Regions from separate parts of the Homo sapiens genome. Here region 2 is linked to region 1. Evidence: promoter capture Hi-C in human tissues and cell types (Jung and others, 2019). All regions are on one chromosome and are shown on one strand. Each heading gives the region's core, a stretch centred on a gene start or on the middle of the fragment in contact. The rest is flanking DNA. Distances are from core to core; before and after follow the strand shown.

Evidence for each region. The method cuts DNA at HindIII sites, captures the fragments that hold promoters and counts their contacts. A contact is called where the count stands out against the background at its distance.
Region 2: a contact is called between a fragment that was not itself captured here and the fragment with the promoter of TGM1 in region 1, in 1 of the 25 tissues and cell types used here (spleen).

Annotation. Positions count from the first base shown.
Region 1 is chr14:24,259,855-24,265,533 of GRCh38, forward strand. It overlaps TGM1 (transglutaminase 1), which reads right to left and starts at 3,323. Exons shown (of 15, transcript NM_000359.3): 1 at 3,235-3,323; 2 at 2,180-2,500; 3 at 1,841-2,029; 4 at 596-844; 5 at 86-204. The coding sequence starts at 2,498. RefSeq lists promoters at 2,498-5,498, 2,498-4,251, 2,506-2,701, 3,262-4,928, 3,311-5,679 and an enhancer at 3,798-3,806. The HindIII fragment of the contact is 4,546 bases long and covers 3,161-5,679 here.
Region 2 is chr14:24,037,461-24,043,139 of GRCh38, forward strand. It overlaps the pseudogene DHRS4L1. Among named protein-coding and RNA genes, the nearest start is that of CARMIL3, 12 kb to the right of the region's middle. The HindIII fragment of the contact is 6,357 bases long and covers 274-5,679 here.

The DNA.
Region 1 (5,679 bases), core at 2,073-4,572:
GGCCAGCACCCTGCTCCAATACCCCAGCCCCCACACCCACCCCAGCTCCTCTGGGTGTATGTGACCCTGGCCAGCCGCACCATACCTGGCCGTAGTTCCAGGTCCGCTCACCAATCTGTGCTTCGGTCCCGTAGTAAATTCTCCCAGACTCATTAAGAACATACTCCTGCCGCCAATCCTCATGGTCCACGTACACAATGTCCTCTGTGTCCCCAGAACACACAAAACTGGTTCCCTCCAGTTCTCTCCCTGGGCCTCACCTACTTCTGGCCAGTTCTGCAGGACTCATGTCCACAGAAGAAAATGCGGGGATGCCCCTAGCCTGACAGGACTGCTGTGGGAGGACACGGGGAGCATGACAGATGGTGGAGGAGATTGGCTGTAGCCAGGGGCCTTTGCCAGGAGAGGTGTGGCTGGCTGTGTGACCCTGGGCTGGCCACCTTTCTGCACCAGGCCTCGGTCCTCTCATCTGCCCAATGGGAGGCTGGCTTCTCCTGGGGTCAGGCACCTAGGCACCCCGCCACATCCGAGGGCAGGAAGCCCTTCCCTGTCTTTCCCTCCCATCTACCCTCTGCTCCAGACCCCAGCTGCTCACCTGGGCACCAGGGGTTGAAGAGGATGTAGATCTCATTGCGGGGGTCAAAGGGCAACTGGAACTCCCCAGCGTCTGATTGTGTGCGGACTGTGAACTGAAACTTGCCGATGATGGCGTTGGGGGAAGTGTGGACCCGCAGGTTCAGATTCTGCCCACTGGCCTTGACCACCTGGGCTTTCCAGCCTCCACTGCCCCCCTTGCCCACTGGGATGATCACGTGCGTGCCCTTGCCCACCTCGGGGTTGTTTCCTAGAGTAGGAAATCAGCAATTAGCTGGCAAGGCCTCCCTGAGGAGAGGGGATGGAGCCTGGGACTTCTCCCGGCCCCACCCACAATGTGTATGAGCCACTGTGTATGTCCCTACGTTGGGCCATCACCTTATTCTCTGACAGTCTCCCTTAGAGCAGCTCTGTCTCCACCCAATGCTTGCCCACATGTTAGGGCAGTGCCGCAGTCCAACATCCCAAACCTGTTCCCCTGACACTGAACTCTGAGGTGGGGAGGAGAGACGAGGGCTCCTGTCACCTTCTGCCTGCCTGACTATCACAGTGCCTGGGCTGGAGGGGCAGATCCACCTGCCCCGTATGAAAGGGCAGTCCTGATCCTGAAGGCCAACCCTGCCTGCTTCCTGGGGCTGCAGCTTCCAGAGCCCAGGGCATCCCTGGTGGAGGTGGTAGGGGTTCCTGGGAAATTAAAGGATGAGGTGGGCAAGGTTAGGCCCTAATCAAAGGGTAAAAGGAGTCACCTGCCCCAGGCAGCAGCATAATCACCAGCCTGAGAAGTCAAGCTACACCAAGCAACGCGGTAAGGGAGGCACCTGCCTTGGGTCATGGGGACAGAGGGACAGAGACAGAGAGAGACAGAATTGGCAGAGATGGGGGACATGGAAGGCAAGAGGGAGAGAGAGAGATAGAAGAGAGAACCAGCCACATCCTGGGGAATGAGAACAGATGCACAAAGGACAGAGCAGCAATGCCGAAGGAGGCACCGAGGCAGGCCCTGAAGAGGAGTACTCTGAGACCGATGCCCCAGGAGGCTTGAGGAGGATGGGCTTGGGAAAAACTGCAACACCAAGACCCTCTCTGAGACACAACCCCAGGGGCACACCCACACACTTGCACCTGCCTTATCTGGCAGAGGTGAGGAGTGGGGCAGGGAGGAGCCTAAAGACCTCTCTGACCCTAATGCCAGCCTCTCCCCACCAAACATAGGGCCTTCACCCGTCCCAATCCAAGCCCCACTGACCGATGAGTAACTCAAGGGTGATGCGATCAGAGGATTCATAGGTCCGGGACAGGAGGAGGAGCATATGGAAAGGCTGCCCGCGGCGCACTATCAGCTCGTCGTACTCATACTCGTCTGTGTGGTGCTCTCGGCGGTTCTGGTCCGAGCGCGAGCTCAGCAAGTCCACACCGTTCACTACTAGCATGCCCTCTGCAAGGACACAGCTCCGTGTCAGTGAAGCCCCATGAGGAGCCCAGGCCCTTATCATTAGCTTCCTATCCCCCCCAGAAATGCCAGGCTGAGTCTCTGGTCCCATTAAAGCCTTTTAGCTCTCAGCTGAGGAGGACAGACCGGCCTCACCTCGGATGGTGCCATCTCCAGCTGCATTGACACCGCTGCCCCGGGATACAGGCCGGCGGGAGTCTGAGCCCCGGGAGCCAGGTCTTCGAGTGCCAGAGCTGGACCCTCGACCCCTGGAGTCAGAGGGTTCAGGTCCCCAGTCGTCATCTGCCGCATTTCGGCATGAACAGCAGCCACAGCAGCGAGCCCAGAAGGAACGGCCTCCTCCTCTGCGAGAGCGTCCGTCTGGCTCTGGCTCTGGCTCTGGAGATGGCGTGGTAGGGGGCTGCAAGGGGTTGCCACCCCAACGGCCCACATCGGAACGTGGCCCATCCATCATGCCTGTTAGGAAGAGGCAGGGTGGCTCCTTAACCCAGGTAGTCCCAGCCAGTTGACCCAGAAACCCTCCATCCAGACAGCTGATTCAGTCCCACCCGATGACCGAAACAATCCCACCTTGGCCCAGAGATTCTCCAGACACATCCAGAGACCTTCCGCGAAGACCATTCAGACTCACCCAGAGAAGCTTCTCATGCTGCAGAGAAAAGCCTTCCCCTCACCCCCACCAAACAACATCCGAAAAACTGCCCAATGAAGAAACCCACTCAACGATCCATCCCAGGAAATCCACATAGTTCCCTGCATGGACACTTGTCCCAGCCTCAAGACCCAGCTGCACACACATCAGAGTGCTCCAGCATCCCTGGGCCTGGTCCGTCCACCTGCTAGCTCTGCAGTCTAGAGGTGCACAACACTGACAGCTTCTAGAACTCATTTCTTAGCAGAAATCCCCCAACTCAAGGTTCCTCACAAGACAGACAAGTGACCCCGGGGCCTGTGGTCCTTGGCATTCCCAAGTCAGGGAAGACCCCACTTGGGGCTGCCAGGAGGGGTAGGGCATGGCAGGTGCCCGGAGCCTGTGCACAGGGAAAGCAGAGTCTTGGTGTTGGGAACAGCCTAGCTGGGGCTGACAGGTACACAGCTGGCCCACACCCCACCTTGCTGGATCCAGGCACGGCCTCTGATAGTGTGGGCCGCCTGGACTCGGCACCACAGTACCCGTGGGAGCCCCTCACCTGGCAGCAGTGTTGGCAACCGCAGTACTGAGTCCTGGGGCTGAGATGGAACAGGTCAGGATGGATGGGACAGGACCCACAGACTGGATGCCGCAGGGACAGACCTGGTAAGTGACTTATGTGGGAGGGAGGGGCCAAACTGCTGTAGGGGGCGGAGAGAAGAGGCCAGGCCTCTGGGCGGGAAATGGGGAGAAGATGCTAGGGAGGGAGCAGGGGTGAGGTCTGGGGGCTTAGGCTGGGCTTTGGTGGGAGCCACCGCTGTGATGGCCCCTGGCACCAGGCTGATTCCTACCAGACTGGGCATGTGAGGAGCCCCTTCTCCCGGATGAAGAAGCTGCAAGGGCAGTGGGGCAGGCAGGCCCTTCCACCCACAGCCCTGTCTGGCCGACCTTCTGGTCCCAAGCTTAGGCTGCCTACCTCTGCTCTCACAGGCTCCTGCTGCCGAGTTCTGTGCAGCCCAAGCCAGGCTCAGCCCTATGAAATTGGCCCAGGGGCCTGGTCCTGGAACTCATCCTGCCCAGGGAGGTCCTGGGATCCCAGGTTGCAGACTGGTGACATCAGCAGCCAGGCCCTCAGACTGGCTCCACCAGCTAACCCCTGACCTGCTGGCTCTACCAGATATTCTGACTCCCTCCACCCCCAAGTCTGTCCCTTCTTTCTCAGCTGCTCTACAGCCCCAGGCATGAGTGAGCTGCCCTCAAGTTTGGGATTAGGGAGATCAGAGTAGGAGCAATCTCATTTCACGTCCCCCACCCCCGCTGTAGCCTCGGGGGTTAGGGGATGTTTAGGCCTTTCCACTCAGGCTTGGGTGGGAACTGAGTCCCCCTTCCAGGGGTACAGAGTACCTTTCTCTCACTGAGAGGAGTCTCTGCTCAGTTGGACTAGAGGATTCCCTTTTCTCCAACCTGGAATTCTTCCTGGGAATCCAGACCAACCGGCTCAGGCACCTGTGCTGTGTGCATCCTTACTCCACCCCGTCACTGGGGAAACACTGAGGATGGCACCAAGGCGATCCCAAGGTAGAGAGGAGGAGGCTAGGCATCTTCAGGGAGGCTCTCCTTGGGTCTTGTCCTCAGGCCCGTCAGCCAGGGCCTTCTTCCTTCTTTCCTTCCTTCCCACTAGTGTCCCAGCTCTGCCCATGGGCCGCCTAGCAGAAGACAGTAAAAACAGGCCGACAAGAAGACACAAGGAAACAGAATCCAGGAGGGGCTGTTTGGTGATGCATCAGGCAGGGAGGTGCCGTGGGGAGTGGGGACAGAGAGGCCCCAGGAACTGGCAGGGAGCCCTCCACACCCACACTGCCTTTTCTTGTCCAGCTCCAAGCACCAGAACCTGCCCGGGGGTGGGGGCAGGTGCCCCACCTCCAACACCCTCAGTAGACACACCAGTGGATATAAACTTCCAGGCAGGTCAGCCAGAGGGCTTTGTGCAGGGGCTGCGGATTTGTGCATCACTGCAGATACGGGAAGGGGCAGGGCCCTGGCTGTCCGGACGTGTGTGAGCACATGTGGGCCCAGGCAGATCCCAGAGAACCAGTAGGATGCCTTTGTCACACTCTCTCCCTAGCTTTAATCAATCTTTCTCTCCCCACCCAGCCAGGTTTGAGTCAGTGCCCTAACCCCTGAGCCAGTCCCCTCCCCCCACCACCACTCAGGACTCTCTAGGTCAGGACAAGGTGTGTACATGGTATGTGTGGGGGGACACCATGGGAGCAGACACTCAGCTCAGGACCTCAAGGAGCTGAGGCCAGGCCGCTGCCCAACCATTCCTTAGCAATACAGAAGCAAGAACATGAGTCTAGAATCCTAGACCAAGGGTAGAGACAACTTTGGTTTCAGTGCTGAAGCGCTCCGGCCAAGAACCTTGGGCAAGTCTCAACAGCAGTTTCCTCATCAGTACACTGGGCCTAAAAATCTCATCCCTGAGACTCTGTGAGGATCAAATGGTATCAAGTATTCTCAAAGGTACTTCAACCGTAGAATGCTACTCATGGGGACCGATAGTGTTGTTCAGGCAGGACGGAGCAAGGACACCCTGGCCCATTCCTGGGAACGTGGAGCCCTTGAGCCTCCCCAGCTATGGTGAATGGGGGCCAGGGCAGGGGGAACATGTGGAAGGTGCAGGGGTCATGGGAAAAAATTGTATGATGCTTCCAGCTGGAGAAACTCACAGCTGCTCTGTAGCTTACCAGAGCCAGAACCTGAGCCCAAGCCCTATTCCTGCTTGGAATCTAGACCCAGTCCCAGCCCCCACCCCAAACCAGAAGGTAAACAAAAGCTCAGCCTTCACCCTGAATTCTGCCCCAAACACTGAAGCCTTGGCTCTCTCTGAGAGGAAACAATAGGATGGCGCAGAAAGAAGGAGCTGGCAACACCCCATGTCTCTTCCCTTTCTTTTCAAAAAATAAAAGTGATGAAGGTGGTGGTGTAGTGATAGCAGCGACAA
Region 2 (5,679 bases), core at 2,202-4,701, 220 kb before region 1:
TCTCAGTCCCAAGAGGGGATGAAGCCTGTCACCCATGGTGGGAACTGTAGAAAGTGATGTCAGTTCTTGGGAACTGAGGCTGCAGTCCAAGATGATAATAAAAATAAGTAAAGGAACGCCAAAAATGGCTGTGCCATTAAGCCTGTTTTACACGTAGTAGAGACACATGGAGGTCATATAGAGAAAGAGCCAGAATTCAAAACCGGGCAGTCTAACTTCAGAGCCCATGCTGTCCATCTCTTCCCCTGCACAAGCCTTAGCAGTCTTTGTCTCTGCTCACAGGATCGGCTTCGCCGTCGCCCAGCGTCTGGCCCAAGACGGGGCCCACGTGGTAGTCAGCCGCCGGAAGCAGCAGAATGTGGACCAGGCAGTGGCCACGCTGCAGGGGGAGGGGCTGAGCATGACGGGCACTGTGTGCCATGTGGGGAAGATGAAGGACTGGGAGCGGCTGGTGGCCACAGTGAGCTGCAGGGAAATGGGCACAGAGCCAGGAGGTGGAAAAGGGAGCCAGCCTGAGCCTCCTTCCCTGCTTTCCTGGACAGCATTGGTGAGATCCAACGCAGTGATGTTAACTAAAACATAACAGTGTGTTCTGCATACCCAACCAGCCCACCAGCACGTTTTTATTGTGTGCCTTTCTATTATGTCCATATATTAAAGTTGGAGAATAATCCCATCCCAATCAGAGAATGTTAAAACATTCTAATGCTTCAACCCTGCATCATCCCTTGCATACCCCAAAGAAACCGCTGGTACTGGTTCTCCAGTAATTTTCAACCTAACTGGACAGATGAGAAGGGTAAATACAATCACAAAATAGATGTTCCCACCCATGAGCTAATAAACATTCCCCTCTTCTTCAGCTTACAGAGTCAAGTCCCTGGGAACTTCAGGAAGCAGCCCACCATGTTTCAACCACTTACTATGTGCCATTTCCTGTGTTCAGAGCCTTACACAGGTTATCTCTAGACCTGACAACAACCCAAGCAAGGCAAGGACTATTCTCTCGGTCTGCAGACGCTGGCTCAGATAGCTGGAGCAACTTCCCAAGGTCCCACAGCCAGTAAGGAAAGACCCAGACCTCCCAAGCTCCCTTCCTTTATTGGCTGCCTGTGGACTACCAGGTACTGGACTTTAGTCTCAAAGAAAGTATATAAGTCAGTGTCACAGTTAGTAGTGGATACCAGCCTTCCAGCTGCCGAAGGAAATATGAACCATCCAGCAAAGCAAGCTCCTCTTCCCTTGAGGCTCAGGATACACACTTTATTTTCCAGAGTGGAAGGGAGAATCTACCCAAAAATGGAAAGTACAGGGTTGTGCTAACAGATTGGAAGGTTGGCAGAAATAATTTGCATAATCTTAGAAGAGGAGGATCTTAAGCAATAGTAGACAGTAGCATGGTAGACAGTATAGGGTAATTCCGTTTTTAAGGAACTGTCTGGCAAATGCTCAAATGTGCATTGGAAAGAGCCAAATGTGAGTCCTAGAAAGTCACCTTGCCTGGCCTAGGCTGGTGGACAGAGCCCAAGATTGGGGCCTTGATCCTGATGGTGGAAGGAGCCGTTTGGGAGTCTGGGTCAATTAGTGACTAACCATATCACATGTAAGTAGCAATGTAATGTGAAAACCCTGTTGGGAAAACATCCTGTGGCCCCCACCAGGTTCACTTAACATGGCCTACAGGCCTGGCCCAGAGGTGGTACTTGAGCTAAACCTTAAGGAATGGATGGGAATGGACAGATGGAATAGTGACGAGGTTCCAGATAACTCTGCAAAATGAGCAGACAGCCAAGGAGGAACTGAAGGAAAGAGAGGAGCACTGTCAGGCCACAATGGAGAGCACAGGCTCAGGAGTACTGCTGGGGAAGGGGCTGCATTGGAAAGATAGAGGCCATGGGCCTCCATATCTTTTTTTTTTTTTTTTTTTTTTTTTTTTTTTTTTTTTTGTGACGGAGTTTCACTCTTGTCGCCTAGGCTGGAGTACAGTGGCACCATCTCGGCTTACTGCAACCTCTGCCTCCCAGGTTCAAGCAATTCTCCTGCCTCAGCCTCCTGAGTAGCTGGGATTACAGGTGCCCACCACCATGCCCAGCTAATTTTTGTATTTTTAGTAGAGACGGGGTTTCACCATGTTGGCCAGGCTGGTCTTGAACTCCTGACCTCAGGTGATCCACCCACTCAGCCTCCCAAAGTGCTGGGATTACAGGCGTGAGCCACTGCGCCCGGCCATAGCTTCTTAAAAGGATACGTTAAGGACCTTAAAAGGATATAGCCTCTTAAAAGGATATGTTTACACACTCTTGTAGCAAATAAGAAGCCATGTGAGGTTTTGAGCAAGAGAAAGATGGTTATTAGGAAAGCTAATCTGGCTCTGGTAGGAAGGATATACAGAGGAGACACCAAATCCAGGGCATCAGTGAGGAAGCTGTTGCTGTCGTCCAGGTTTAGAGCAGTGGCGGTGGGACTGGAATAGATGTGCCCAAGAGACATTCAGTGGAAACGAACCAAGATTTTCCAACCCCATGTCAAAAAGTGGGAAATAGAGAAGTCAAAAATGACTCTCAGGTAGTTTGTATGACCATTGTCAGAGAGGAGAATGATAGAATACTTGTCAGCAATTTGAAATGTCTTCTGCCAGTTGTCACATGTTACCCTGCAATGAGAAAAGCCACTGCCCTGAGAATGGATACTACCCAGTGGCCTCCTCATCTGCACACCACGAAGCTTCTCACTGGTGTTGTAAGTGGAAACCAGAGTAGCTGCCTATCTGCTTGATTATATTTTTTCTTAAAAATGTATAACTATCAGAACACAGAACAAACAGCTCCTAACCACTTTAGTGTAGTGATCACACAATTTAGAACACTTAGAAGACATCTTTTTCTTTTCCCCCCAGAGACAGGGCCTCACTCTGTTGCCCAGGCTGGAGTGCAGTGGCATGATCATAGCTCACTGTAACCTCCAACTCTTGAGCTCAAGCAGTCCTCCCCCGTCAGCCTCCCAAGTGGCTAAGATTATAGGCATGCACCACCACGCCAGTTCATCTTTTAAATTTGTTGTAGAGTTGGGGCTTTATTGCCCAGGCTGGTTTTGAACTCCTGGCCTCAAGCGGTCCTCCCTACTGGCCGTACCAAAGTGCTAGGATTATAGGTGTGAGCCACCACACCCAGCCTCATTCATCTTTTATGGTTTGCTGTCTCTGTTCATTCAAAACCCAGCCTCCTCCCATCTCTGTGCTGACAGACCTGGAAGTAGAGGGGCATGGGGTATGCAGCAGAGTAGAAAATGTCTCCAGGTGATTCTGGAGCAATCCACTGTCTTCTCCCAGCCCAAACACACGTGCACTGAGCACAGCACACATCACTTATTAACTTATTCTGCACCTCCCTAGTAACAAGTACATTGGTGAGACTTACACAGAGCCAAGGCAGGTGACTTGGCTTTGTGCCAGGATACCAAAATTTAAAGGGTGCAAGAAAGTATTCATACTGGTTTTAAAAGAGTACTTGACTTTAAATTTTGTTAGATTTACACGTTGACAGCCCAGGCATTTCTTCAACTGTGTTGAAGGTTAGCACCTAGTTAACAAGAATAATTAGTTAAAATGGGAAGCTAGCAGATGGTGTACATTGTTAATAACACCCCTCCGTGGGCCAAATCCGGAGCACAAAATTGACCAAGGGCCCATGTACTGCTACTTGCCCAAGGCATCAAAATTGCCAGTTCCAGGCAAATGCAAAGTCTGGTTTCAGGGTGGCTTTGTACTGAAAACCCTTGTTGGCAGATTCTGCTTGGCCATTCATTACTCTAGCACATGCCTCACTACCTACTTATAACTTATTAAGGAGGTGAGATGTTGCCTTTCTTGGCTTTCTCAGTTTAAATTTCCCTTTCTGCCTTGAATCTTTCATGCCTCCAGGTCAAAAGAGAGAGACAGAGACAGGGAAAATGACATCATAACCAAATATGGAATTGCTTTAAATTCAGGCTGGTATCTTCTCCCATCATGGCTCTCCTGGGCAGCCGGTTTCCTAATGACCCCAGCTCACTTTCAGAGGGCTCTTACGAATTAGCTCTGTGCTACAAAGTGGGAGACTGACCTCAGTTCTTCCACCACTAACTAGCTTTATGCCCTGAACAAATCACTTTCCCCAACACGGAATAAGCAGGCCTCCTGTTCTTAGCTAGCCCCAGTGTGTTACTACTGAACTATATGATCTTGAGAAAATTCCCTGAACCTGTTTCATCATCTCCACCTTAAGGACATTGGAATAGATGATCTCAAAGGCCCCTCCAGGGTAACTTTCTACAGCTCTATTTAAGCCAGTTTTTCCATTCAGGTAAGTGTGGCCAGATTGACTTTGAAATAATGGTAACTTATTCAAGAAGAACTGGACAGTAAGCACTTGGAGAAATGTGGGTGGAACTCAGTGTGAAAGGAAGAGGAGGGGTCTGGAAATAGATTTTGGGGTGAGATTTGAAATCACGAGAATGAAGGAGCTCCCAAATGGGAAAATGTAAAGAAAAGAGCATAGGGTCAGAGACAGCCTTAGAAGAATAGGAGGTGGGAAGAAAACACTGCAAAAGAAATAAGGCCAACTTCCTGGTGGCTCACACCTGTAACACTTTGAGAGGCCGAGGCAGGCGGATGGCTTTAGCTCAGGAGTTCCAGACCAGCCTGGGCAACATGGCAAGACCCTGTCTCTACAAAAAGTACAAAAATTGCCCAGGTGTGATGGCACGCACCTGTATTCTCAGCTACTTGGGGGGCTGAGGCAGGAGGATGGCTTGAACCCAGTAGGTCAAGGCTGCAGTGAGCTGGGATCATGCCACTGAACTCCAGCCTGGGTGACAGAGGAAGACTCCATCTAAAAAAAGAAAGAAGCCAACCTTAAATGGTTAGCAGCAGATCTTAGGGTAGTTTTCAAAAAAGATGTTTTAAGAAATAGAAGTTATTTTGACGATAGTTCCTAAGAAGGAAGATTTGTTGTTGTTGTTGTTGTCATTGTTGTTGTTTTTTTAAATATAGGGATAAGGTCTCCCTATGTTGCCCAGGCTTCTCTCAAACTGCTCAGTTCAAGTGGTCCTCCCACCGTGACCTCCCAAAGTGCCATGATTCCCGGCGTGAGCCACCACGCCCCGCCCAGAAGGAAGTTTTTATCAACGTGAATAAATGCACCTCCCTTACTTACTGCAGCCCTGGTCCAGACCTTACCCCTCTCCCTAGGCTATGAAGCTTCATGGAGTTATTGATATCCTATCACTATCGATAACAAACTCCGTCTGCTTTTAGAATGTGTTTATCAAGTGCAGTGTAAATGTGAGGAGTCTTTGCCACATGCCACACACCTGGAGCACACCTGGTAAAGGGCGGGTGGGGGCAGCTTCCTCTGTCCCTGCCCTTCTCATTCGTTTCTGCTGCTCCTACTTCTGTCTGCTTCCATCTGCCCTTCACTATCCACCGTCTGCTCCCCTCCCCAGCCTTCTTCCCGGCATGCTCTGCTACCTGGTTGATTTCCAACAGAGACGTGGCAGCTAATATGCCAACAACTATGACACTTAAACTTACACACCCAACTGTCCCCCTTTCAGCTGCCAAAAAGGAATCATTTTTCATTAGCTGGGAAATATTAAAAGCTGCTAGTTAAGTAAAATACTAATTCTGGTGAAATAACCAGT